Linked DNA regions of Homo sapiens: all the other regions are linked to region 6. The links are contacts of gene promoters, found by promoter capture Hi-C in blood cells and fetal thymus (Javierre and others, 2016). All regions are on one chromosome and are shown on one strand. Each heading gives the region's core, a stretch centred on a gene start or on the middle of the fragment in contact. The rest is flanking DNA. Distances are from core to core; before and after follow the strand shown. Region 1 has its middle 70 kb from the start of LINC00603. Region 2 has its middle 3.7 kb from the start of LINC00603. Region 3 has its middle 49 kb from the start of LINC00603. Region 4 has its middle 220 kb from the start of LINC02104. Region 5 has its middle 230 kb from the start of LINC02104. Region 6 holds the start of PTGER4 (prostaglandin E receptor 4). Region 7 has its middle 130 kb from the start of LINC00603.

Evidence for each region. The method cuts DNA at HindIII sites, captures the fragments that hold promoters and counts their contacts. A CHiCAGO score of 5 or more calls a contact.
Region 1: a contact is called between a fragment that was not itself captured here and the fragment with the promoter of PTGER4 in region 6, in 2 of 17 cell types (naive B cells and total B cells). The highest score is 5.9, in naive B cells.
Region 2: a fragment that was not itself captured here is called in contact with the fragment with the promoter of PTGER4 in region 6 in 1 of 17 cell types (naive B cells); the score reaches 5.8 in naive B cells.
Region 3: a contact is called between a fragment that was not itself captured here and the fragment with the promoter of PTGER4 in region 6, in 3 of 17 cell types (naive B cells, neutrophils and total B cells). The highest score is 8.8, in naive B cells.
Region 4: a contact is called between a fragment that was not itself captured here and the fragment with the promoter of PTGER4 in region 6, in 1 of 17 cell types (neutrophils). The highest score is 5.3, in neutrophils.
Region 5: a fragment that was not itself captured here is called in contact with the fragment with the promoter of PTGER4 in region 6 in 1 of 17 cell types (neutrophils); the score reaches 5.3 in neutrophils.
Region 7: a contact is called between a fragment that was not itself captured here and the fragment with the promoter of PTGER4 in region 6, in 2 of 17 cell types (neutrophils and total B cells). The highest score is 5.9, in neutrophils.

Annotation. Positions count from the first base shown.
Region 1 is chr5:39,980,728-39,984,512 of GRCh38, reverse strand. No RefSeq gene overlaps it. Among named protein-coding and RNA genes, the nearest start is that of LINC00603, 70 kb to the left of the region's middle. The HindIII fragment of the contact is 5,583 bases long and covers 1-3,785 here.
Region 2 is chr5:40,054,170-40,057,760 of GRCh38, reverse strand. No RefSeq gene overlaps it. Among named protein-coding and RNA genes, the nearest start is that of LINC00603, 3.7 kb to the right of the region's middle. The HindIII fragment of the contact is 4,203 bases long and covers 1-3,591 here.
Region 3 is chr5:40,001,560-40,005,396 of GRCh38, reverse strand. No RefSeq gene overlaps it. Among named protein-coding and RNA genes, the nearest start is that of LINC00603, 49 kb to the left of the region's middle. The HindIII fragment of the contact is 9,445 bases long and covers 1-3,837 here.
Region 4 is chr5:39,734,648-39,738,043 of GRCh38, reverse strand. No RefSeq gene overlaps it. Among named protein-coding and RNA genes, the nearest start is that of LINC02104, 220 kb to the right of the region's middle. The HindIII fragment of the contact is 3,223 bases long and covers 34-3,256 here.
Region 5 is chr5:39,752,525-39,755,930 of GRCh38, reverse strand. No RefSeq gene overlaps it. Among named protein-coding and RNA genes, the nearest start is that of LINC02104, 230 kb to the right of the region's middle. The HindIII fragment of the contact is 3,803 bases long and covers 1-3,406 here.
Region 6 is chr5:40,677,903-40,681,751 of GRCh38, reverse strand. It overlaps PTGER4 (prostaglandin E receptor 4), which reads right to left and starts at 1,837. Exons shown (of 3, transcript NM_000958.3): 1 at 1,274-1,837; 2 at 1-801. The coding sequence starts at 758. RefSeq lists an enhancer at 292-819 and a silencer at 1,955-2,174. The HindIII fragment of the contact is 6,362 bases long and covers 1-3,674 here.
Region 7 is chr5:39,922,427-39,925,864 of GRCh38, reverse strand. No RefSeq gene overlaps it. Among named protein-coding and RNA genes, the nearest start is that of LINC00603, 130 kb to the left of the region's middle. The HindIII fragment of the contact is 1,749 bases long and covers 797-2,545 here.

The DNA.
Region 1 (3,785 bases), core at 23-2,522, 700 kb after region 6:
GACTTCACTTTTTCTTAAATTGTATTAGAGTCTGTGGGTATGCTTTTCCTACAGCAATTCTGCACCCACATAAAAGCTGTGTTTTCAATATGAAATTAAAGGAAACTGTATTTTACAAAAACTGCAAGGTTTCATGCCTGCTGGTGTAGCTGCAGTGAAAGTTTCACAAATGTTCTTTTCTTTTTAAATAATGGTTCTTATGCTGGATTTATTTATCTTGAAATGGTGGGCATCCACTGCTACAGATGTCAATCTATGGTACACATCAAACAGTTAAACTGTTTTTTATGTCACTACTTTGCTTCTTGGGAGCATTTTCAGCATCACTAGTGGCACTTCATATGGGTACCATAATGTTACTCAAGGTTTAAGGGTGTTATACTAAACACAATAAAAATATACAAGAACTGAGAGAGATCACTTTTGCTGCAATATGCAATTTACTGGAGAGACAAACTGCTCGCAAGGAGATGACTGGTGCCACACAGTGTTTTAAGCAAATACTTGCAACTCTTGAGATCACTGCAATAGCAACAAGAGGTGAATAAAAAATTATTACAGTAGTACAGTATATACTATAGTTAATTTTAGGCAGTTATGATTTAATACTGCATCTTTGCATTTGTTTAAATTTCTCTAGAGTGCAATGGTACCATATGTGGCCTGTAAGTGTTTATGTGTGTTTTGGTAAGTTTTAAGTTTTTATAAAAGATTTGTGTATATTTTATGGTAGTAAATAATAAAATAGACTAGTATCTACATATATTTTATGCATTCATGACACACCTAACTTTTTCTTATTTTTTCCAGTATTTCTAGGCTACATGGTTCATCTGCAAATTTCTGTAAATTGTCACAAATCTTCAGAAAACTTTTCAATATATTTACCAAAAAATGTACCTATAATTGGACTAGTGAAGTTCAAATCCATGTTTCTCAGGGGTCAACTGTATAATATAACAGAATGAGAATGAAAAGTGTGAAGGCCCAGAAAATTGAAGTGGCATTTGACATCAAGTAACCTGCATATCTACTTTACTTGGAGATTCTGAATTTTCTATCAAAAGACAGAAGAAATGATTTTGAAAATGAACGTGCAAGACCATCAGAATATTTAGGTCTAATCATTAATAGTCAGACTAAAGAAATGGTCTCTCAAATCAGGCCTCTCTTTTCTTTATGCTTACAATACCTAAATGCGTGTCCTGCTACATAAGTTTTCCTGAAGAATAGTTACAGTCATTTTACTTTCTAAGTCAGCAGTGGTTTTTCTGAGTGGAAATGCAATTGACCTTTTTTGCCCAATGATCTTCAAGGAATCTGAAACGTGACTGAGACTCACTCTTCTAAATTATTAACTAGAGCACAAAAACGGAGAGATCTCCATAGATAAACTTTTGTACCATGTAATCTGAATGTCCCTGCATTTTTAACATCCTGGCATGGCCCCAAAACACTCCTCCATTACCCTTTTCTTGTTCAGTTTTTCATTGGGTTTTATCCAAGTTCAGAATAATTTTATCTTGGCAATTTAAAACACTTGCACTTCCTCTCCCCTTGGATCTAAATGAACACAAATCATTTCTTTTCCATGGAAAGAACCAAGATAGTATGTTTCCCCTCTCATCAGTGAATCAAAAGAACTCTATTTAGCTGTTTGGCCTTTGTTCTCCTAAATCAAACATGCTGTTTATCACTAAAATTAACCATTACTTATAGGCTCATTGACTAAACCAATAAACCAGCAGAAATCTAAATAGGCTAAGAGCAAATCGAGTAAAACCTAATACAATCATGGTTTGTTTTTGAAGAAAATAAAAAACAAGCTATGAAAAGTCACTTGCAACATAACTTACTTATTCTATCGAAAAACATAGTTTTGTTTTTAGCCTGAACCCTCTTTTTTTTCTAGCCTATTCTCTCTACAGCAGATTTCCTTATTCCATTCAACACACACATGCCTAGTCCAATCTACCTTATATTTTCTTTTTAATGCTATATCTAGATAGCATTGAATTCCATTGATTTTTCTCCACTATATTTTCCATACATATTTTGTATCAGGCTGTTTTTCGCATTACTGTAAAGAAATACCTGAAATTGGGTAATTCATAAATAAAATAATTTTTCTTTTGCCTCATGGCTCTGCAGGCTCTACATGAAGCATAGTGCTGGTATCTGCTTCCAGTGAGGGTCTCAGGAAGATTATAATTGTGGCAGAAGGTGAAGGGGGAGCCAGCACATGATATGGCAAGAGAGAGAGCAAGAATGGGGGGTAGGTTTCATGCTGTTTCAAACAACTTGATCTCATGTGAACTACCAGAGCGAGAAGTCACTTATCGCCAAGGGGATGATGCTAGGCCATTCATGAGGAATCCACATCCATGATCCAAACGCCCCCCAATCAGGCCCCACTTCCAACACTGGGGATCACATTTCAACATGAGATTTGAAGAAGGAAAACATGCAAACTATATCATTTCAACCCTGGCCCGTTAAACCTCATGTCCTTCTCACACTACAAAATACAATCATCCCTTCCCAATAGTCCCCCAAAGTCTTAATTCATTCCAGCATCAAATCAATCAAAAGTCCAAAGCCTAAAATATCATCTGAGACTCATCTCCTTCTGCCTATGAGCCTATAAAATCAACAATGAGTTATTTACTTCCAAGATACAATGGTGGTATAGGAACTGGGTAAAAATTCCTATTCCAAAAGGGAGAAATCAGCCAAAATGAAGGGGTTACAGGCCCTTTGCAAGTCTGAAAACCAGCAGGGCAGCGATTAAATCTTAAAGCTACAAAATAATATTTTAAAACTTCATGTCTAGCATCCAGGGCACACTAGTGCCAGGGACGGGCTCCCAAAGCATTGGGCAGCTCTGCCTCTGTGACTTTGTAAGGTCACCATGGCTGCTTTCACAGGTTGGAATTGAGTGCCTATGGCTTTTTCAGGCTCAGGATGCAAGCTGCTGGTGGCTCTAATATTCTAGTGTCTGGAGGGTGGCAGTCCTATTCCCACAGCTCAAGTAGGTAGTGCTCTAGCAGGGATTCTTTGTGTAGGCTCCAACCCCACAATTGCCCTCAGCATTTCTCTAGTATAGGCTGTCTGTGGGGGCTCCACCCTGCAGCAGGCTTCTGAAATACATCATACAACATCTGAAATTTAGGTGAAGGCTGTCAAGTCTCCTTCACTCTTGTATTCTGAGCACCTGTAGGTTTAATGCCATGTATAAGCCACCAAGGCTTATCACTTGAGCACTCTGGAGCAGCAGGCTGAACTGTATCTGGGCCCCTTTGAGCCAAGGCTGGAGCCAGAGCAGCCAGGATGCAAGTAGCAGTGTCCTGAAGTGGAGCGTGGCAGCGGTGCCTTGTGCCTGGCCCCTGAAAACATTCTTTTCTCCTAGGCTTCTGGGCCTGTGATGGGAGAGGCAGCTTAGAAAATTTCTGAAATGCCTTCTAAACCTTTTTCCCATTGTCTCAGATATTAGCACTTGGCTCCCTTTTAGCCATCCAAATCCCTCTAGTAAGAGGTTACTTGAAGCCTGCTTATATTAGTGTCCTAAAAATGTTTTTTTGTTTGTTTTCTGCCACATGGTTAGGTTGTAAATTTTCCAGATTTGTATGTTCTTCTCTTTTAAACATGAGTTCCAACTTTAAGTCACTTCTTTGCTTCTGTATCTGTTCATAGGCTGTTAGAAGCAGCTAGGTCACATCTTTTTTTTTTTTGAGATGAAGTCTCATTCTTGTCACCCAGGCTGGAGTGTAATGGCGCGATCTTGG
Region 2 (3,591 bases), core at 778-3,277, 620 kb after region 6:
ATAGGGCAAATAGAAAAATGTTTTATAACGTCATTCCTGGAATGTTTGTCTTATGTTATTTGAAATAACTCAGAAGTTGTTTAAACCCTGGTGGCTCCTGGGAACTGTCATTCGTTTACCTCAAAGAGGCACAAGCTCTTTTTTGAATGTGTTTTACAGCACCTTCTTTCAACCACAACTGAATATATCCTTCACTTCTTAGAATGGTACAAACACTTCTTAGTTTGAATCTTTTTGGATCCAAAGCTGCTTGATTTGAATGTAGTAAACCTTTTATTTGTGATTCTAGATTCCCAGGGGAAGATGGTGGGTCTATGCAATTTTACCTACAGAATGCCTACAAGGCCTTTGTAAAATTAGGTCTCAGTAACATTTTAATAACAACAATTTCTATTTTTCAGTCTCATTACTACTTTCGAATTATAAGATGTCTATACTACACTCTAAAGAATCTCACAAGTAGGTTAGAAATGTGAAAAACTGAACTCTCTTCTTAATGGCCATCTTAGAAACCACAGATAATTTAAATTTAACTAGGTCTAATCCAACCAGTTTTCTTTAATCAAGACCATGTGTAAACTAAATTTTATTAATTTAAATATTTTTCCTTTTACTTTGCCTTGTTAAAAAGACTTAAGGCAGGTAGCAAGATGCACACCAATAACATAAAAAAGGGGTATTAGTTCATTTAATGTTGCTACAAATGAATTCCTGTGGCTCACTAATTTATAAAGAAAAAAAGTTATTTGGCTCATAATTCCCATGATTGGAAAGTTCAAGTTTGGGGTACTGCATATGGTGAGGGCCTCAGGCTCCTTCTACTTCTGGCAGAAAGCAAAGGGGAACTGGTTTGCATAAAGACCACATGGCAAGAGAGGAAGAAAGAGAGAGAGGGAGGCACCAGGTTTGTTCAAACAACCAGCTCCTTTGGGAACCAATAGAGCAAGAACTCTCTCACCGCTAAGGGAGGATATTAATTTATTCATAAGGAAACTGCCTCTGTGACCCAAACACCTCTCATTAAGCCCCATCTCCAACACTGGGGATATATTTTAACATGAGATTTGGAAACATGCAAACCATAACAGAGGAATGGGGGAATGAAGGTGAGAAAAATAAGATAAAACCACTAGCGTGATTAGCACACCACTATGCTGCTCTTTTCTAGTGATAGGAAACAGAGATACATCATTAAGGTTTCTGGCAGACCACAAAAATACAGAATTATGGTTGATTAACCATCTCAAAGGGTCTAAACAATAAAACAAAAGCAATTGCTTAGAAGAGTAAAACATTCCTCAATGTTGATTCTGGAGAACCATTTTTGTTTTTTGTCCTCAGAGAGAAAATATGGTGCCATGTGTTAAACCATGTTTTCCACAACATTATTTTGGTAAATACAGAAGTGTGCTCTACGAAGCTATTTCTTACAATGTTCCTCAAAGTGTATTAGAGACACCAAGTTGTATAATAATTTAGAAAAAAAAAAGAAAAAGTAAAAAAAAAAAAGTACAGGATTGTAAAACATGATTCAGGTATGCAGTTTTTTTCTAGTAGTTTGGCTTGATTCACAGACAGAATAGTGTAATTAGAAAAAAAATGTATCTTTGTAGTCACCACCTGACCTCAAAAAACACATAGCAAAAATCTGATATCAAGGTAAGGAAGTAGTGAGAAAAAAATTTAATTATCTGTTTATTGTAAAGTATATACATTTTGAAAAAATTGAAAACAATAAGGCCTATGTAACTTAATGTCCTCTTATATAGCATAATGTCCTTGAGGTTCATCTATATTGTCACATATGGCAGAATATTCTTTTTTTCTTTCAAGCTAAATAGTATTTAGCTTGGGCACTAAAATAGTGTAGCCTGGAGTTTTGAACTGAAATATCCAGTAATGAGATTTTAAAGTTTGAAGAAGTAGTGGCTGATTTGAAATAATTGAGGAACAACTGGAAATTGGCTTGGGAAAGATAATGGCAGCAAGTCCAAGAGGAGAAACAGAAGATCCTTGCTAGAGGGATTCTCTAGATTCTTCCAGTTCAGTTTCCTGTTTCCCAGCATAATCACAATTAACTCTTGGGAAAACAGGTGTAATTTTTCTTTCCTTACAAAGCCCTATATCTAAGAAATACTACAATTTTCACTTTAGCACCAAGATAAAATTTATATAAACAGTAGAGAAGTAGCAGCCATGGACTCCACAAAGACTGAACAGAGAAAAGTATGCAATTAAAACAAACAAAAAGCTCACAACTTAATTTGAAGCAGTTAGGGATCCTCCCTTTACTAGTGAACAATGAGGCAATCTATTTTTAGCACGCAGTGAAGTTTGGCTCAAAATTTAATTCAAGGCATTAGAGGGCTCTGTTAATTCCCTGCTTATATTTCAGGAGTACTAACGTGGCTTACAAGAAACCAGAGCAAACTGATTGATTTCAGGTTTAAATTTACTTGCCTTGGGCACTGAACTTAAATTGTCTGGGGTTAGGAGAAAAACAGTGAGAAAGATATACTGACATGGTTGTAAATTGCTCTGACCTTCACTACACACTCAGCACTCTAGCATTACTCAGTGCAGAGTAGCCAATTTAGTAAGCCACAGGTACCAATAATTACTAGTTATTAAAGCCTAATTGTGTGCCAGACATTTTGCTAGGTGCTTTATATTCCTTCTCACTAATATTCATATGCTGGGTTGAATACTGTGTCTCCCGAATGATGTCTACCTGGAACTTCACCCTGTGACCTTATTTGAAAATGGGATCTTTGCAGATGTAATTAGGTTAAGATGAGGATATATTGGATTAAGGTGGGTCCTAATACAATAACTGGTGTCCTTATATGAAGAGCAAACAAAGATACAGAGACATGCCTAGGATGAATGCCACATGATGACGGAGGTAGACAGTATAGTGGTGACCTGTGAGCCAAGGGTTGCCAACCGCCACCAGAAGCCAGGAGAGAGGCATGGGATGATTTCTCTCCCAGAACCTCCAGAAGGCACCAACTCTGCTGACACCTTGATTTCAGGCTCTGGCCTCTAGAACTATGTGAGAATAAATTTTTATTTCTGTAAACAACCCAGTTTGCATTAGTTTGTTACCTCTGCCGTAAGAAACTAATACAATTCACGTTAACCCTCAAGGTAGGTGTCAGTTTCTTTTAAAAAAAAAATTTTTACAACATAACCCGACTAAAACTTGTGCTCACTCCACTGTCTTTTAATCAAGCTCACTAAACAGTAGAGTATAGCAATTAGGTGATCTGGTGAAAAAAATTATCCCAAAATTTATGCTAATTGACCACATATGCTTTTTCATTTCAATTCCAAGAGCAATTCTTTCCATCGGGAGGTTGACTGCTCCTTCAAGATGGTCATTGCTACTTTGTCAAAGCCTGTAACCTGGGAGATAGCCAAATAGGATGGCTTTGGTGATTTCTCACCACAACAGGGCTCCTGTGCTTGCAGGAAAGGAGATAATAGATTTTGGAAGACCAGGCAATGCAAGGAATGAGTCTGCACATTCTGGGTCAGATGCCTGGAATAATGTGTTACAGGCTTCTAGGGAATGAGGGGGAATCCACA
Region 3 (3,837 bases), core at 948-3,447, 680 kb after region 6:
AATATACAACCTACCAAAATGGAATCAAGAAACAGAAAATATGCAGACTAATAAGAAGCAAGGAAGTAATCAGTAAATAAAAATCTCTCAATAAAGAAAAACTCAGTACCTGATGATTTCACGGATGAATTCTACTAAACATTTAAATAAGAATTAATACCAATCGTCGCCTGTAATCTCAGCATTTTGGGAGGCGGAGGTGGGTGGATAACGAGGTTAGGAGATCGAGACCATCCTGGCTAACACGGTGAAACCCTGTCTCTACTAAAAAATACAAAAAATTAGCCAGGCGTGGTGGTGGGCACCTGTAGTCCCAGCTACTTGGGAGGCTGAGGTGGGAGAATGGCATGAACCTGGGAGGCAGAGCTTGCAGTGAGCCGAGATAGCACCACTGTACTCCAGCCTGGGTGACAGAGCCAGACTCCAACTCAAAAAAAAAAAAAAAAAAATTAATATCAATCCTTCTTAAATTCACAAAAATTAAAGAGGAGGTAACACTTCCGAACTCATTTTATAAGGCCAGCACTATGCTGATACAAAAGCCAGACAAAAATACTATAAGAAAAAAAAAATTACAGCTGTTATTCATATAGGTGCAAAAATCCTCAACCGAATACTAACAAGCCATATTTAACAGCACATTAAAAAAGATCATTCTCCACCATCCAGTGAGATTTATTCCTGGGTTATAAGGGTGGTTCAACATACATAAATTAATAAAGATGATACATTGCATAAACAGAATGAAGGACTAAAATCATATGATCATGTCAATAGATACAGAAAAGGCATTTGGTAAAATTTACCATCCTTTAATGATAAAAATTCATTTTCAACAAATTAAGTATACAGGGAACATACCTCATTATAATAAAGGCTATATATGGGAAGCCTATAGCTAACATCATACTCAAATGAAAGCAAAGGTTTTCCTCTGATATCAGAAACTAGACAAGGATGCCCACTTTAGCAACTTCTATTCAACATGGTACTAGAAACCTTAGATAGAGCAATTAGTCAAAAATAAAAGCATCCATATAAGAAAAGAAGTAAAATTATCTGTTTGCAGATGACATAATCTTGTCTATAGAAAACCCTAAAGACTCCCTCTCCCCTGTCCTGAAAAACCTGGTAGAACTAATAAGTAAATTCAGTAAAGTTTCAGGATGCTAAATCAACATACAAAAACCAATTGTATTTATCTACACAAATAACAAAACATCCAGAAAAGAAATTAAGAAAACCAGCTTGTTTACAATAGCATCAATGTGAATAAAACACACAGGATTTCATTTAACCAAGGAGGTAAAAGATGTCTACCCTTGAAACTATAATACGTTGGTGACTGAAATTAAAAACAATGCAAATAAGTGAAAAGATATCTCATGTTCATGGTTTGGAAAAATTAATATTTTCAAAATGTCTACACAAATGGCATTTCTTATAGAAATAGAAAAAACTTCTGAAATTCATATGGACCCACAAAGAACCCAAATAGCTAAAGCAATCTTGAGCAAGAAGAACAAAACTGAAGGTATCAAACTTTCTGATTTAAAATTATATTACAAAGCTACAATAATCAAAACATGTGATACTGAGATAAAAGCAAACAGAAAGACAAATGGAACAAAATCAAATGTCCAGAAATAAATTCATATATATATATATGAGTTTTATATATATATATATATATATATATATTTGAGTTTTTATATATAGTCCGTGAATCTTCAACAAGGTGCCAAGAATGCACAAACAGAAAATGATAGTGTTTTGAACACTATCATTGAACAAATGATGATGTTGGCAAAATTGGATATTCACATGCAAAAAAAAATCATGAAATTGGATGCAAGTCTTACATGACATGCAAAAATCAACTCATTGTGAATCAAAGATTAAAACATTATATCTGACTCTATAAAACTCCTAGAAGAAAATATGTGGGAAAAGTCCATGATATTGAACTTGGCAATGATTTTTTAGATACGGCACTAAAAGCACAGGCAACAAAATAAAAAATAAACACGGGAAACTTCATCAAAAGTAAAAAGTTTCTGCACAGGAAAGGAAACAATCAACAAAATAAGAAGGGAACCTATGGAATGTGAGAAAATATTTGCAAACCTATAAAGATTTAATATATCCTATACCTGGTTAATATCCAAAATATAGAAGGAGCTCATGTAACTCAACAGCAGAAGGCAAATCATCTGATTAAAAGTGAGCAAAGGACCTAAATAAAAATTTTATGAAGAAGAGATATAAATGGCCAGCAGGTATATAAAAAGGTGCTCAACATCACTAATATGAGAAATGCATATGAAAGCCACAATGAGATATTATGTTACACTTGTTAGAATGGCTATTTTCAAAAAGTAATGAGGTAAGAATTTTTGGTGAGAATGTGGAGAAAAGAGAACCATTATACCTTTTGATAGGAATATTTCCAGATATTACAGAAAGCAGTAGGAACATTCTTCAAAAAATTAAAAAAGAACTACCATATGATCCAGGAACCCCACTTCTGGGTATTAATGCAAAGGAACCATTAGTGGGAATGTAAACTAGTACAACCACTATGGAAAACTGTGGAGATTCCTTAAAGAACTAAAAGTAGATCTACCTTTTGATCCAGCAATCCCACTCCTGGCTATCTACCCAGAGGAAAAGAAATCATTATACGAAAAAGATACTTGCACATGCATGTTTATAGCAGCACAATTTGTAATTGCAAAAATATGGAACCAAATGACCATTCATCAATGAGTGGATGAAGAAAATGCAGTGTGTATATACCATGAAATACTGCTCAGACATAAAAATGAATGAAAGAATGGCATTTGCAGCAACTTGGATGGAATTTGGAGACCATTAGTCTAAGAGAAGTAACTCAGGAATGGAAAACCAGACATTGTACGTTTTCATTCATTAGGTTGGAGCTAAGCTATGAGGATGTGAAGGCATAAAAATGATACAGTGAACTTTGGGGACTCAAGGATAAGAGAATATACATTGGGTACAGTGTATGCTGCTTGGGTGATGGATGCAGCAAAATCTTGAAAATCACCACTAAAGAACTTATTCATGTGACCAAATGCCACCTGTTCCCACCCAAACCAACTCTTGGAAATGGAAAATTTTAGAATAATATTTCGTAAGTCTTTTGAATGTTCTTTACCCTATATTTTTCTTGCCCCTACCTCAATCTCCACTGTTTATGTATAAAGTAAGTTTAAAATCTATCATTTTTCAGTGATTAAATATGTCTTTCATACCATAATTACTGCCAGTTGTCCACTTGTGGCTACTAGAGGAATGAATTTTAAGGAACATGGGCAATTTTTAGCTGCAGGCATAAACATACTAATTCCCTAGACTCCCTGAATATAGCGAAGTGATGTCAGGTCTGGATAAAATATGGCAAATGCCTTTGCTATGATTTTGTGCAATCTTCAAAAGGTTTTCTTTTTGTTTATTTTGTTTAACCAGAAAACAGTCTCTCTCAACTTTCTTTGCTGTGAATTCTACAGAACTTAGACCATTATGTAACAGGTAATGAGATTCAATGGATATTTGTTAAATAAATAAAGTCTGGTTTTTATTATGTTAATTGAAACAAGTTATTATTACTAAAAGTCTCCTCTGTATACTAAAGAAAAAATGTAGTAGATAAACTCAAATATGTTGTGAATCAACAATTTCATAAATGATATTGGTGGATGCATAGAAAAACAATTCTTTCATGAGATTTTCTTTGTTAATGTCTAGGGAAATGGAAGATGGAGTGGGAAGAGGCAAGTGAGCAAGAAATATGAAAATTCAAATTTTATAATG
Region 4 (3,396 bases), core at 396-2,895, 940 kb after region 6:
ACTTCTAGTGTCAGTACTAACATGTAACAAGCTTAGAAGTTACCACTCTTGTTCTTTCCACAAGAAAAATCAGAAGAAACTGAAAATGGTTGACTTTTCTTGAGCCCATCAGAGAACTGAGGTTGCAGGACAAACCAACATCCTAAAAACTAGAGAGGAGAATAGTCATAGCAGAGATCTGCTTACCTAGAGCAGAAGCTGCTGGAGTCTTAAGCTGCTAAGAACATTACATGGTAATTTTGGTGAATTGCTAGAAGCTGGCTGTGGACTAACCTTAGGGTATGAAATCACTAGGGCTGTAGTCTTCGTGGGTCTCCTACACTTTTCTCCAGATACCTCACCAGAATCTCAGAATAAAATTCCTAGAAAAATATTCTCTAGGCTGTGGCAACAAGAAAGGAAGAGTAATCATTGTGAAATTATGTCCAGAGCATTCTCCATAAAAGAGGTCGGTCTAAGGGAAAAGATTTGCCAGAGCTTTATCGTAGTTAAGGGAAGGTGTTTCTCCCATTCCGGCACCTCTAGATGTCCTTTCTCATCTAAGGGGAGAGAACATCTACATCACTGAAGAAATACCTGTGAAAGCCAAAGCCCATGACACAAATCCATAAAAATACTGAGATTTGATGATAGGATTATACAACACTCCCATTCACTGACCACCACACCAACCAGGCTCCAGTATAATAATAGTGGATTCCAGCTGGAAGAGCTGCAAGACACAAACTCTCTGCAAGGAGGAATACTTAGGGAAGATTAAAGTTCAAAAGAAAGACAAAACAAAGGCAACAGATGAATTTGAAGCCTCTGGCACTGACAGCTATAGTAAATATTAAATATACCCAAACTCTTAGCCCCATTAACAAAAACTCTCACACGAAAAGTCAGCAGTCCATATTACTCACACACATTCAGTTTTCAACAAAATCATGACGTGCCAAAAAAAGAAAGAAAAATCAGAGTTAGAGCAGATAAAACAAGCATCAAGACCATGCTAAGGTATGACATAGGTTTTAAAATTATCAGCAAATTTAAAATAACTAATTAATATGTTAAAGTCCCCAAAGAAAAAAAGTAGACAACATGCAAGAGCACATGGCTAATGTAAGCAGAAAGATAGAAACTGTAAGAAGAAATCAAAAAGACATAGAAATAAAAACAATATAATGGAAATGAAGAATGCCTCTGATGGGCTCATTAGGAGACTAGACATGACCAGGGAAGATCAGTGAGTTTGATGATACGTCAGTGGAAACATCCCAAACTGAAATGTAAAGAGGATTTTTTTTTCTGTTTTTTGTTATATTTGTATTTTTTAAATGGAATATCCTATTGCTGTGGATATATTTTTTTAAAGATACCCATGAGCTGGGCACGGTGGTCCCTGTCTACAGTCCCAGCTACTTGAGATGCTGAGGTGGGATGGTAAGATGCTAGTAGATTGAGGCCGCATTATTTATGATTGCACTCCAGCCTGGACAACATAGTGAGACCGCATCTTTAAAAAGTCTTTTAAATAAAATAAAATATAATATATAGAATGCATGTAATTGGAATATAAGAAAGAGAGAACGAAGCAGAAGTAATATTGTAATGAGATCCATAATCTGCTACATGAGATGTAGCAAATATAAATGCAAATATCCTCAATAAAAAAAAATTAGCAGATCAAATCCAACAAGGTATAAAAACAATTATGTGCCATAACCAAGTAAGAGTTATTCCAGGTATATAAGGGTGGTTTAACATTCAAAAATCAATGTAATTCATCACTTTGACAAGCCAAAGAAGAAAAATCATATGATCATATCAACTGGTGCAGGAAAAAGCATTTGACAAAATCCAACACCTATATATGATAAAACATTTCAGAAAACTGGGAGTAGAGGAGAAATTCCTCTGCTATAACTAACATCATACTAAGTAGTGGGAAATTGGACGTTGTCTGCCTAACATTGAAAACAAGACAGGGATATGCTATCTCACTACTCCTTAAAAAAAAAAAAAAAAAAAAAAAAAAAGGAGAAGGAGAGAGATGAGATCTCACTATATGACACGGGCAGCTCTTGAACTCCTGGCTGCAAGAAATCCATCTACCTCAGCCTCCTGTGTAGCTGGGACTACAGATACAAGCTACCTGGCTGTCTTACCACTCCTTTTAAACATTGTACTGAAAGTCCTGCCTAACACAATAAGACAATAAAAGGAAATACAATGTATACATATCGGAAAGGAAGAAACAAACCTGTCTTTTTTCACAAATAACATGATTGTTTATGTAGAAAGAATGTACAAAAAACTACTTGGAACTAGTTAACAAGTATAGTGAGGCCACAAGAAAAAAGGTTAATATACAAAAGTTATATTTGCTTTCCTATGCACTAGCAATGAACAAATGGAATTTAAAATTAGAAACATAATACCATTTACAATAGTGATCAAAAAATGAAATACTTTGTTACAAATCTAACAAGAAATGTACAAGACATATATGTGGAAATCTATAAAACTCGAATGAAAGAAATCAAAGATGTAAATAAATAGGGAGATAAACTCTATTCATGGTTGTATGTCAATATTGTTATGAGGTCAATTCTTCCCAACTTAATCTATAGATTCAATGAAATTTTCATTAAAATGTCCTCAAACTATTACATGGACATCTACAAATTGACTCTAAAGTTCATATGGAAGGTCAAAAGACCTAGAATAATCACAAGCACTGAAAAAGAACAAAATTGGAGGGCTCAAACTATCTGATTTCAAGATTTACTATAATAAAACTACAGGAATCGAGACAGCATGAAATTGGCGACAAAATAGACACATAGATCAATGGAACTGAAAGAGAGAGGCTAGAAATGCACCCACGCAGACATAGTTAACTGACCTCTGGCAAAGGAGGAAAGGCAACTTAGTAGAGAAAGGCTAGTCTTTTCCATAAATAATGATGAAAAAATTGGGAACCCGTATGCAAAAAAATGAAATAGACAAAGTCATTTCACATGTTACAAAAAATAACTCAACATAGATCATATACATAAATGTAAAATGCATCATTATAAAAATTCTGGAAGAAAACATCAGAGAAAATTTATGTGAACTTGGGTTTGATAATACATATTCTAATACCATTCTTCAGTACTAAAATCAGGGTTCCTGAAAAAAAAAAAAAAACTTTCATCAGTTGAACTTTATTAAAATTCAAAACTTGTGCTCTGCAAAAGAAACTATTAAGATAATCTAATGATAAGCTTCAGAGTGGAAAATAATCTCAAAACACATATCTAATAAAGGACTTGTATCCAAAATATTCAAAGAACTCCTAAAACTCGAAAATAAAAGAACAAATAGCCCAATTAGAAATTGGGCACAAGATCAATGTACCCTGTTCAA
Region 5 (3,406 bases), core at 433-2,932, 930 kb after region 6:
TGAGCCCTATACCTTATTTCCCAGAAATATCTTCAGTAAAGCTGAAAATGCCATAAAATATATGACAGAAATGAAAGATACAGCTCCCTGAACTATCATGAGATAGCTTTATCATATTTAAAATTTATATAGTAAAATATTTCACATATATTACTTCATGTAAACCAAGTAATAGCCTTCTGTTTGTAAAACAAACATCTGCTGGAATAAGGACTAGCTCTAAGTCTATTCTTACAGTCATTCCACAACTACTGCCTCCTGCACCATGTTCTGACATCAGAAACTGCCTGACAAATGTATTTATTTACCTCTATTTATGAGTTTGAATTGCTCCACATTCTGAGATCAACTATGGTCCTAGGCAAAAGGCATGTAGGTACTTCTTGCAGAATCAGATATGTGGCTCAGTGTTGAGGTCACCCTGGCCATAGATGGGCTACTGATTATTGTATAGTCCCCTTGTTTACAGCCCCTGGTATCCAGATCCTTAGTTGGGCCACTTTCTACCATTCTGCTAATTCCATTGCCTATTTAATTTACCTTGCGGACTAAATCATCAATTCCATTTCTAGCCCTTGGCAAGAAGGCAACAATAACTTAAGGTTTATTTGAACCAATCTCCAAGGTCTCCATTGAATCAGTCTAACAGGCTCAGTGAAAAAGGAAGATTTGCCATGTTGATATGTTTCACATGGTGCTATCAAAAGATAAAAACTAAACGGTGCATGAACACATCTGGTAGTTAAACATTATGTTTCAGACATTGTGTGCCCTTAAGCACAAAGGCATTGGCCAGACCTGCGGAAATACGGAATGAGTGATTTAGCAAGGAATTGCCACTCTGTGCAGTATTCACTCATTAGCCAGCATGAACAACTACAGAGGATCGATGATCCAATTATCACTTCTCAGTATTCATATTATGCCACTTATCAGTAGCATTTGACACAACTGATCACCATCAGCTATCCCTGGATTATTGTAATAGTCTCCTAACTGGTGTCTCTATTGCAAGTACCATTAGTTTGTCAAATAAAATTGGATGATAATTGTACAGAATCTTGCAAAGAGCTAGAGAATGATGATTAGGAAGTGGGGCATAGAAAATGGGTAATGAAATTAACAGGATGGTAGAAAGAGACTCAAGTAAGGGTCTACATACCAGCGCTGGGAACACAGGGGCTATATAAAAATCGGTGCCCATCTGCAGCCAGAATGATCACAGACAATGAACCTAAGTATGTTCCACCTATCCATCATTCTAAATCTTCACACTTCGACCCATAAAAAGGTAATATATTTTAATCAAATTGTTTATACACACAGAGGTGCACAAAAACTATTTGTTGGGGACTGCACACACCTAATGGGTGTCCCTTACTGAAATCCTGCATCAGTACAATAAAGAAAGACACATTTTAATGACTTTTCTACATATAGTGGGCCTTTCAGCATTCTCTATACTGCTGGTACCTGGCCTAATGCCCGGATATCTTTCTCTCTCTCTCTCTCTCTCTCTCTCTCTCTCTCTCTCTCTCTCTCTCTCTCTCTCTCTATATATATATATATATATATATATATATATATATATATATATATATATATACTTTAAGTTCTGGGATACATGTGCAGAACATGCAGGTTTGTTATATAGGTATGCACATGCCATGGTGGTTTGCTGCACCCATCAACCCATCATCTATATTTGGTATGTCTCTTAATGCTATCCCTCCCCCAGCCCCCCACCGCATGACAGGCCCTGGTGTGTGATGTTCCTCTCCCTGTGTCTATGTGTTCTCATTCTTCAATTCCCACTTATGAGTGAGAACATGTGGTGTTTGGTTTTCTGTTCTTGTGTTAGTTTGCTGAGAATGATGGTTTCCAGCTTCATCCATGTCCCTGCAAAGGACATGAACTCATCCTTTTTCATGGCTGTGTAGTATTCCCTGGTGTATATGTGCCACATTTTCTTTATCCAATCCATCATTGATGGGCATTTGAGTTGCTTCCAAGTCTTTGCCATTGTGAATACTGCTGCAATAAATGAAAAAAAGCTCATCGTCACTGGTCATTAGAGAAATGCAAATCAAAACCACAATGAGATACCATCTCATGCCAGTTAAAATGTCATTTATCAAAAAGTCAGGAAACAACAGATGCTGGAGAGGATGTGGAGAAATAGGAATGCTTTTACACTGTTGGTGGGAGTGTAAATTAGTTCAACCATTGTGGAAGACAGGGTGGCGATTCCTCAAGGACCTAGAACCAGAAATACCATTTGACCCAGCAATCTCATTACTAGGTATATACACAAAGGATTATAAATCATTTTACTATAAAGACACATGCACACTTATGTTTAATGCCCAGATATCTCAAGTCCACTGTATTTGCTGCTCCTGAAAAGCTCTCCGACTAGGTATCTGGAGATGTCATTCCTCATCTTCTTCAGACTTTACTCAGATGTCACCTTCTCAGTGAAACCTTCCCTCGATCATCTTATTTAATAAAGCAACTATCTCCATTCTTTTTATGACCTCTCCTTACCTTTTATTTCTGCTTAGTCCTATCACCATTTTACATATTTACTTATTTATTGTCCTTGTTTCCCTGCCAATATATAAGCTCCACGAAGACACTTTTCTTCATTTACTGCTGTACCCAGTTAATTAATCAGATACTTGTTGAAGGAATGACAGGATATTTAACGCACGAATAATGAATCAATGATGGTTGGACTGAACTGCTTTGAAGTTTCCATTCAACTGTACAATCTTTTATAAATTTTCACTTATAAAATCCAAAGTATATATTGATTTCCTTCTAAAAAGGTCTTAAATTATAATCAAAAATAAAGTTAAAAATATTTAAGCAATATATATGGTATGTGATTTGCAGATCTTCCATTTTGTACAGTCATGAGTGTTCTATCTATGATCTTAAAACCTTGAAAAGAATCATTTGATTCTAAAATTGTTAGCCCATTGGTTTTTGTCTTATTTCATAATATCTAATGCATTTTCCTTCTGTTTCTGGGACTCATCTTAAATTAGCCGCTTGTTAAATCACATTGCCATGCTCTCCTTATAATTTTGCCATACTCAGGTTGATTTCAATTTCTTTTATTGTGGTCTAAAACTTCCTTGCCCTAACTCATATTTTATTATTGTCATCATATCTATGAAATTATCTTTCTATTGTGATAATCTTATAATAATGGTTAGTGATATTTTCTATGAAGGATATTTGAGGAAATAGTGCATTATGATGAAATGTATGTAAAAACTGGCAGATGTTTTCTCAATAAGGGAAAAGAAACCATCAAGAATCATTGTCTTTGAATCCTTTCTTTTTGCCTCAGAGCAAAAAACATGCATTTGCAGTTCTCGTGACATTAAAAAAGTAC
Region 6 (3,849 bases), core at 588-3,087:
TCGCTGAGGCGCGGCAAGGCTGGGGAGGCAGCGGGGTGGCCCCGGGAGGCAACCGAGGCGGCCGCGGCCGCGTGGTGCTGCTCGGTGCCCAGCGAGGTGCGGCGCATGAACTGGCGGTGCATGCGGAGCAGCGCGCCGCACACAAGCACGTTGCAGAGGACGGTGGCGAGAATGAGGAAGGAGCTGAAGCCCGCGTACATGTAGGAGTAGGCGGCGTGCGCCGTCACGTTGGTGGTCCAGTCGATGAAGCACCAGGTGTCTGGGTACTGCAGCCGCGAGCTACCGAGACCCATGTTGGGCAGCGCGCAAAAGAGCACGTTGGACGCATAGACTGCAAAGAGCGTGAGGCCCGCCAATCGCTTGTCCACGTAGTGGCTGTAGAAATAGGCATGGTTGATGGCCAGGTAGCGCTCGACACTCATGGCGCAGATGATGCTGAGGCCGGACAGGCTGAAGAAGAGCAGAATGAAGGTGCTGTACTCGCACAGCGGCTGGCCCCCGGGCCATTGGCCCTTCATGTACGTGGCGATGGTCACCGGGCTCACCAACAAAGTGCCCAACAGGTCGGTGACAGCCAGCCCACATACCAGCGTGTAGAAGGTCGTCTCCTTCTGCTCCTTGCGCGACTTGCACAGCACCACGATGGCCACCAGGTTGCCCACCACCCCGAAGATGAACATCACCGCCGGGATGGTCACTGGGCTGTTCAGCCGGTCGGGGCTCAAGGAGGCGGACGAATTGACCCCGGGAGTGGACATGATAGTGGCTGGCGGTGCGCAGCCTTGGAGTGCAAGGCTGGGTCTGGGGATGGTAGAAGAGAGACAAAGCTGCCGTGAGCGGAAATTACCACTTGTAAGGTGTTAGACCCGCGCCCGAGAAACGATACACTGATAAGACAAGGGGAGCAACTCGATCCTACTTTCTGGATTGTAGCCACTTACCAACTGCGGCCACCAAAATCTCCAGGCTCGCGATACGTCCTGCCAACAGCACACTCTTGCTGACATTAATATTTATAAACTGATTTTCCCATTCCTCTTCCTCCCCACAATCCAACTCACTCCATTGCCAAGATGAATAAGACCCATCTCAAGGGAAAAGTAGCTCGCTAGTGCTATTCTCGATAGATTCTGAATCAATAAAATGCTCACTGAAAACAAGTTACAAAAGCAATTTGGAGAGCGCGCTCTTCCCTTCTTGGCTCTCTTCGGCGAGGGCCGCATCCCTGCGTTCTCTACCCGTTGACCCCAACGTCAGCCCAACGCCATCTCACCTGTAGCGGCAGCAGCGGTGGCAGCCTCACGAGCCCCCAGGGTCAGCCCTCAGATGTCCTGGACCCGCCTCCAACCTGCTTTCACCTTGTCCTGCTCAGTCTGGAAACTGCCAAATCTTCGGCTTCTCAAAGCCGGTCTCAGTGGCTGTCGATTTTTGGACACCGAGGTCAGAGTTGCCAGCTTTCAAAAACTTGGGAAACAAGAGGTGCAGCGGGATGGGTCAGTGAAGAATGGTGCTGGATTTCTTACTCGCTATTTTTTTTCCTTCAAAGACGAGTCCCAGCTTTGCAGTGCCCGCCGGTCTCGTCTGCGGGAGGACAGCGTTCAGGTGTGAGGCTGTGCGCGCAGGTGGCGCGGAGCCTTGGTCCCCAGCTCTGGCTGCCCTCCGCCCCAGCCACGGGCAGCACGGGCGGCTACTGGAGTTTGCGGCTGCCGCTGAGGCCGCTCCTGGCTACCTGGGGGCGGCTCGGGGTCCACTCTGCCAGAGGCTCTGGCCTGGGGCTGTTCATCTTCCTCTCGGGCTGCCGGGCTTGGAGCTCCGCTCTCGCCTTTCCACCCTCTGTACAAACTTTTCTCCTCCTCCAAGTTTCCCTGGCGGAGGCGGAGGCAAACCGCGCGCTGCCCGGGCGCCCATTGGCCGGATTGGAAGGGGGCGGAGCGCGTCCTCCCTGGGCGCCGCAGGGAAGACTGGCGGGGGGCGGTGTCTGGGCTGGGGCGGGGCTGGGCGCGCGGGGTGGGGCGGCTCCCGTGGTTTTCACGCCCTCGGAGGTGCGGAGTGGGAACTCGGAGGGGACCCTGGGAAGCCCCGGTGCTTTCCCCGGCGACCGCTTAGCCGCTCCTGAACTCGGCTTCCAGTGGGGCCACCACTGAAACCGGCGACCGTTTCCGCCTCGCTGCCTGCCGCTCGGAGTGTACTATTTCTTGAACCTCCTGTCCGCGGGCCGCAACATCTAGATCGTGGAAGAGAGGGCAGTTGTTTTAGGATTCTACCTAGGGTTGGCCGAGAAAGGAGAAGAAATACGGTGTCTGCGCTAGCGCGTGCGCCCCGGGGTTAGACTTGGGTGCGCCCAGCGGACGTGGTAGGTGGGTGGGTGGGTGGGTACCAGATTGGGCGGGGAAATAACGAAGAATCCATCCTCTCACCATAAAAGGAGTTGGAGTCAGTTGGCAGTGCCCAGACTGCGGGCTGCGCTTGGTCGGGCACCCCAGGCAAAAAAGAAAAAAAAAAAAGAGAAAGAAAGAGGAGGAGACAGTGATTGCAGCCTCTCCCGGCGCAGGTGGCAGAGCCTTGCGGCTTTGGAGAGAGGTGGAGCCTTGGTGAGGTTGGGAGGACTGCCTAACTGCGATCTTTTTCTCCATTCTTCCTCCTGGGAACTTCTCCGCCCTGAAAGGGTAGCGTGAGCTTCATGCCTTCGGCCGGCCGTGTTATACTCGTTAGACCCAATTCACCATGAATCCTTTGAAAGACTAGTGGAGAGTGAGAAGGGGGTTTCAAAGTCACTGGAGTAAAGGAATTCTCCAAGCACCACCTCATGATTAATTCTTGGAAAAGCCTGTTTGCGCGGCCCTTAGAATCATTTTGACTTCTTGTCTAATGGTGAAGTTTTTCTCTGTAATCCTTCTACTCTGTTTTCTAAAACCAGAACTAAAAACCTAAAAAATTGTAAAACTTCATGGTGTAATTAAAACCCCTTCACCATTTTTTTTAAGTAAGATTGTGTGGCCTTATTGCACAATTTAAATTCCTGGAAAAACCTCTTCCCATCTGCAGTGTACAAGCATTCTAACATATTATGTCTCCTCACAGGGTAAGTAAATAACTGGATTCTTTTATGTGATAAGCAGGTACCCATTTCTTAAATGTTATTTCGTGAACGAACAAACCTCCTAACTGGTTCTTCAGTTAGTCTCAGCAACACATGGGTAATAAGAGAAACTAAAAGGGCTTTCCGATTTCAAGTAATTACAGGTCATAAAATATCCAGAATCATATTTACTTGCAAAAGGCACTATATGGATATACTAATAAAGAATTATTCTGTTTATACTATTTACTTAATAATATGAGAAAGAAAAATACACATTTGTTAGCCAATATTAAGATTGATGGTGATTGGTCATTTTCTTAAAAATCTTCTTTTAATCAGTACTCTAATCACTTCTGTTGTCGATGCTTCCTTTGAACAGTAACCTCTAGGATTGTGTCAGCACAGAAAACAAATCAACATTAGAAAAAAGGAAACTGCACACTCTGCGCCATTCCTCACTAACCACATTGCTTTGCTATCACTCATGTCAGTTGCTTGTCAGTAAATATATGGAGGGGAGGTTGGGAAGTCCCTTATATTCACTTTCTGCTAATACAAATTTTTTTTTTCAATTTTCTTTCCATATGAAGCTTGTAAAAGAGAAAACAATTGGTTGCTATTTATTAATTTAAGAATGATGAAGAATATATTAAATATAAAAACTGAGACACACTGCTGAGATAATTAGTAACTGTTACAGGTATTAGCATGTCATTGACAAACCAGACTTGTTATCAATTGAGCTATTTTTCTTACTAGTCCTTTGA
Region 7 (3,438 bases), core at 422-2,921, 760 kb after region 6:
ATATATAATCATGAAGGTTCATGTTACTTGTTTTGACAGTGTTTAACAAAGTATTTGAGATTGTGATATTAGCACATGTTCTAATCAGTCAAATATTTATTCATGTCAGAAATAACAAAGACTCTGCATTCTAGACAATGGGTTATCCCATTATCTGGTATAACCACCCTTAAGATAAAGCAAACCTCTTTTGAGACAAATTAAGAAAATAAAGGATGTTTGAACAGACATGCTGCTTTAAGTAGGAGTTAGATGACTACCTAAATGCATATTATCTTTTTAATGAAAAGACAACTTTTGTAGGCTTCCTTAATTGTAAGTGAACAGAATTTCCTTCTTACTAATATTAGTTAAAAATAGTCCAGTGAGTTCCAGTGGCTTAAACAAACCAAATATTCCAAGCTATTTCAGTTACATCTGGTGGCAGAAGTAACAAGATTTCATCAGGCATTCTGTAAGAATGATTAGAGAGGAAAAAAACTAGTGTTTTGGGACGCATTCTGTGCATTGCGCACTATGTTATTTTTTATCTTCTTTAATTTACTTCTCAAGCAACCCTGAAAGATACAAATAACAGCAAATTAAAAGAGAGGTTAAGTAACTTGCCTTATCATTTTCTATTATGGGGATGAACACTCCTTGGGGCATGCAAAGAAGACAATGTCAATGGCAGCTCCTAGAATGATGCAATGTGGTGGCCCTGTATAAAGGTTAAACATAAATTAGTTTCTTCCTCAACTTTCCATGGCATCATTTTCCTTCCCAAACAAGCTTTGTACGATATTTCAAGAAAGCTTGTAGAGATTCATGAATTTTAAGCAAAACCAAAATCAGGAACTATATTTCAGTCTGCATATAACATTTCTTCAATGAGGAAAACAGTTGAAAACACTAAATGATGTTATGTGGACATAGCAGAAAGTCACTCTGAAGTTATCCAGTTTCCTAATTTTGGCAAACTGGATAACTTTTAACATTGTCCTTATCTAGAAAAATGATTATGACTTCTTTATTAAAGGTTGCAAGAGTAACCTTTAATATCAACCTCTGATTTTACAGTCCTGCATGGCCAAGAATTATAAACTTTTTAATTTTATTCAATATGGCTTTTATATATCTCATCATATTAGCCACTGATCTTACATTAATGTCAGAGAGGTGTTTAATACATGTCTGACACTGGAATTAAAAATGCTATTAATGTGAAGAAGAAAGGTTGTTTCTTCTTTTTAATCTCAGCTGGTCTTAAAGATTGTTCTTCAACTTTTATTTTACTCCCTTCACCCCTCTGGCCCTCTTCTTTCAAATTGGCAGCCCCTAAATGTATCTCTAACTCAGTTTTCTAGTGTCAAATTGTGAAGTTAATGTCAGTTGAGAAGATATATTTAAGAACTTCAAAGGACGCTCTTTGGAATTGTAAGAGTGGTATTTAATGAAAAGAAGAGATGGTCATTGTCACCTGCATGCAATATTTTATGTTTCATCTGCTTGTGATTGTTTCCCCACCACTCATATATATCAACATATACAAAATACACACACACACACACAGACACACACACACACCCCACATATGCTTTGATGTTTTACAACCGTCTGCACTTTATTAGCTAAACCGCCTTGGGAAAGTCAATTGCACTTGCAGAACTTAATCTTGCTCATTGAGCAACAGAAAAATAATGACACTACCTTTGTTATTAGATAATTATAAGAATTCAATGAGTTAAAATATGAAGACAGCTTAATATATAGTCAACAAAAATATTGTCTACACAAAATTTGTAAACTATTGTTTATAATCTACCAGTTGATTTGATCACATTTAACATTTTATTAAATATTACTGCTTATAATTATTTAAATTTCTAATTTGTATTGGTTTTATGTACTCCACTATATAATATGTGCCTTAGGGACACTGATTTCTAAGATAAATTCATAGATTGGCTTATAGATTAGTTCATTAGAATCACTAACATATTAAATTTTAGAACTAAGAAGAGGTTTTACTTATTATAGTACTAACACGTTGCTAATTATAAAATTGTTTAAGTGATTAAATACTTGGTCTGTGAAATAAAAATTTATGGTTAGTGGAAGAAGTGATTTGAACTAATTTATATTTTGATATTGGAGAGATGTAACTAGGGACACTTTGAAAGGCTAAGAGATTTTTACTTGCACTTGAATTTGAATTTCAATAGTATAGTTTCATAAAATCAAAATCTTCAGAATTTAGGGGTGAAAATTTGCCTGGTTTAGTAAACTTTAAGTAATGTAGGCCTACCTATTCCCTGAGACTCAACAATATTGAAATTAGGTCAATTAACTTGATTTTAAGTAATGTGGCAACATATAGAAATTGTTCAAACTTACGTAGACACCATCATTTACCTCAATCTTCAAACTTATTTGACCAATGATATAATCTTGAACTGAAAAGAAAACTCTGTTTAAATATGCAAGATATGCAAGTGTACTTCGTTTTATTGTGCTTTACTTTATTGTGCTTCACAGAGATTGTGTTTTTTTACAAATTAAAGCTTTGTGGCAACCCTGTATTAAGCAAGTCTATCAGTGCCATTATTGCAAAAACATGTGCTTAGTTTGTGTCTCTGTGTCGCATTTTGGTAATTCGGCTATATTTCAGACACTTCATTATTATTATAACTCTGATGGTGATCTGTAATCAGTGATCTCTGATGTTAGTACCATATTGTATTTGTTCTGGGGTGCTACAAACCACACTCAATACCACAAATAAATGTGTATGTTCCAAACTGCTCCATCGACCAACCAGCCATTACCCCATCTGTCTCCCTCTCCTTGGGCCTCCCTATTTCCTGAGACACAACAATATAGAAGTTAGGTCAATTAACAACCCTACAATGACCTCTAAGTATTCGAGTGAAAGAAAGAGTAACATGTCTCTCACTTTGAATCAAAAGCTGGAGGTGATTAAGCTTAATGAGGAAGGCACGTCAAAAGCTGAGATAGGCTGAAAGCTAGGCCTTTTGCAACAGACAGTTAGCCAAGTTGCGAATACAAATAAAAAGTTCTTGAAGGGAATTAAAAGTGTTACTCCAGTAAATACAAATGATAAGAAAGCAAAACAGGCTTATTGTTTACATGGAGAAAGTTTGAGTGGTCTGTATACATCAAATAAGGCACAACATTTCATTAAGCAAAAGCCTCATTCAGAGGAAGACTCTAACTCTTCAATTCTATGAAGGCTGAGAAAGGTGAGGAAGCTGCAGAAGAAGGATTTGAAGCTAGCAGAGGTTGGTTTGTGAGGTTTAAGGACATAAGCCATCTCTGTAACACACAAGTGCAAGATGAAGCAGCAAGTGCTGATGAAAAATCTGCAGTAAGTGATCCAGAAGATCTAGCTGGGATCTTTGATGAAGTTGGCTACAACTCAACAACAGATTTTCCACG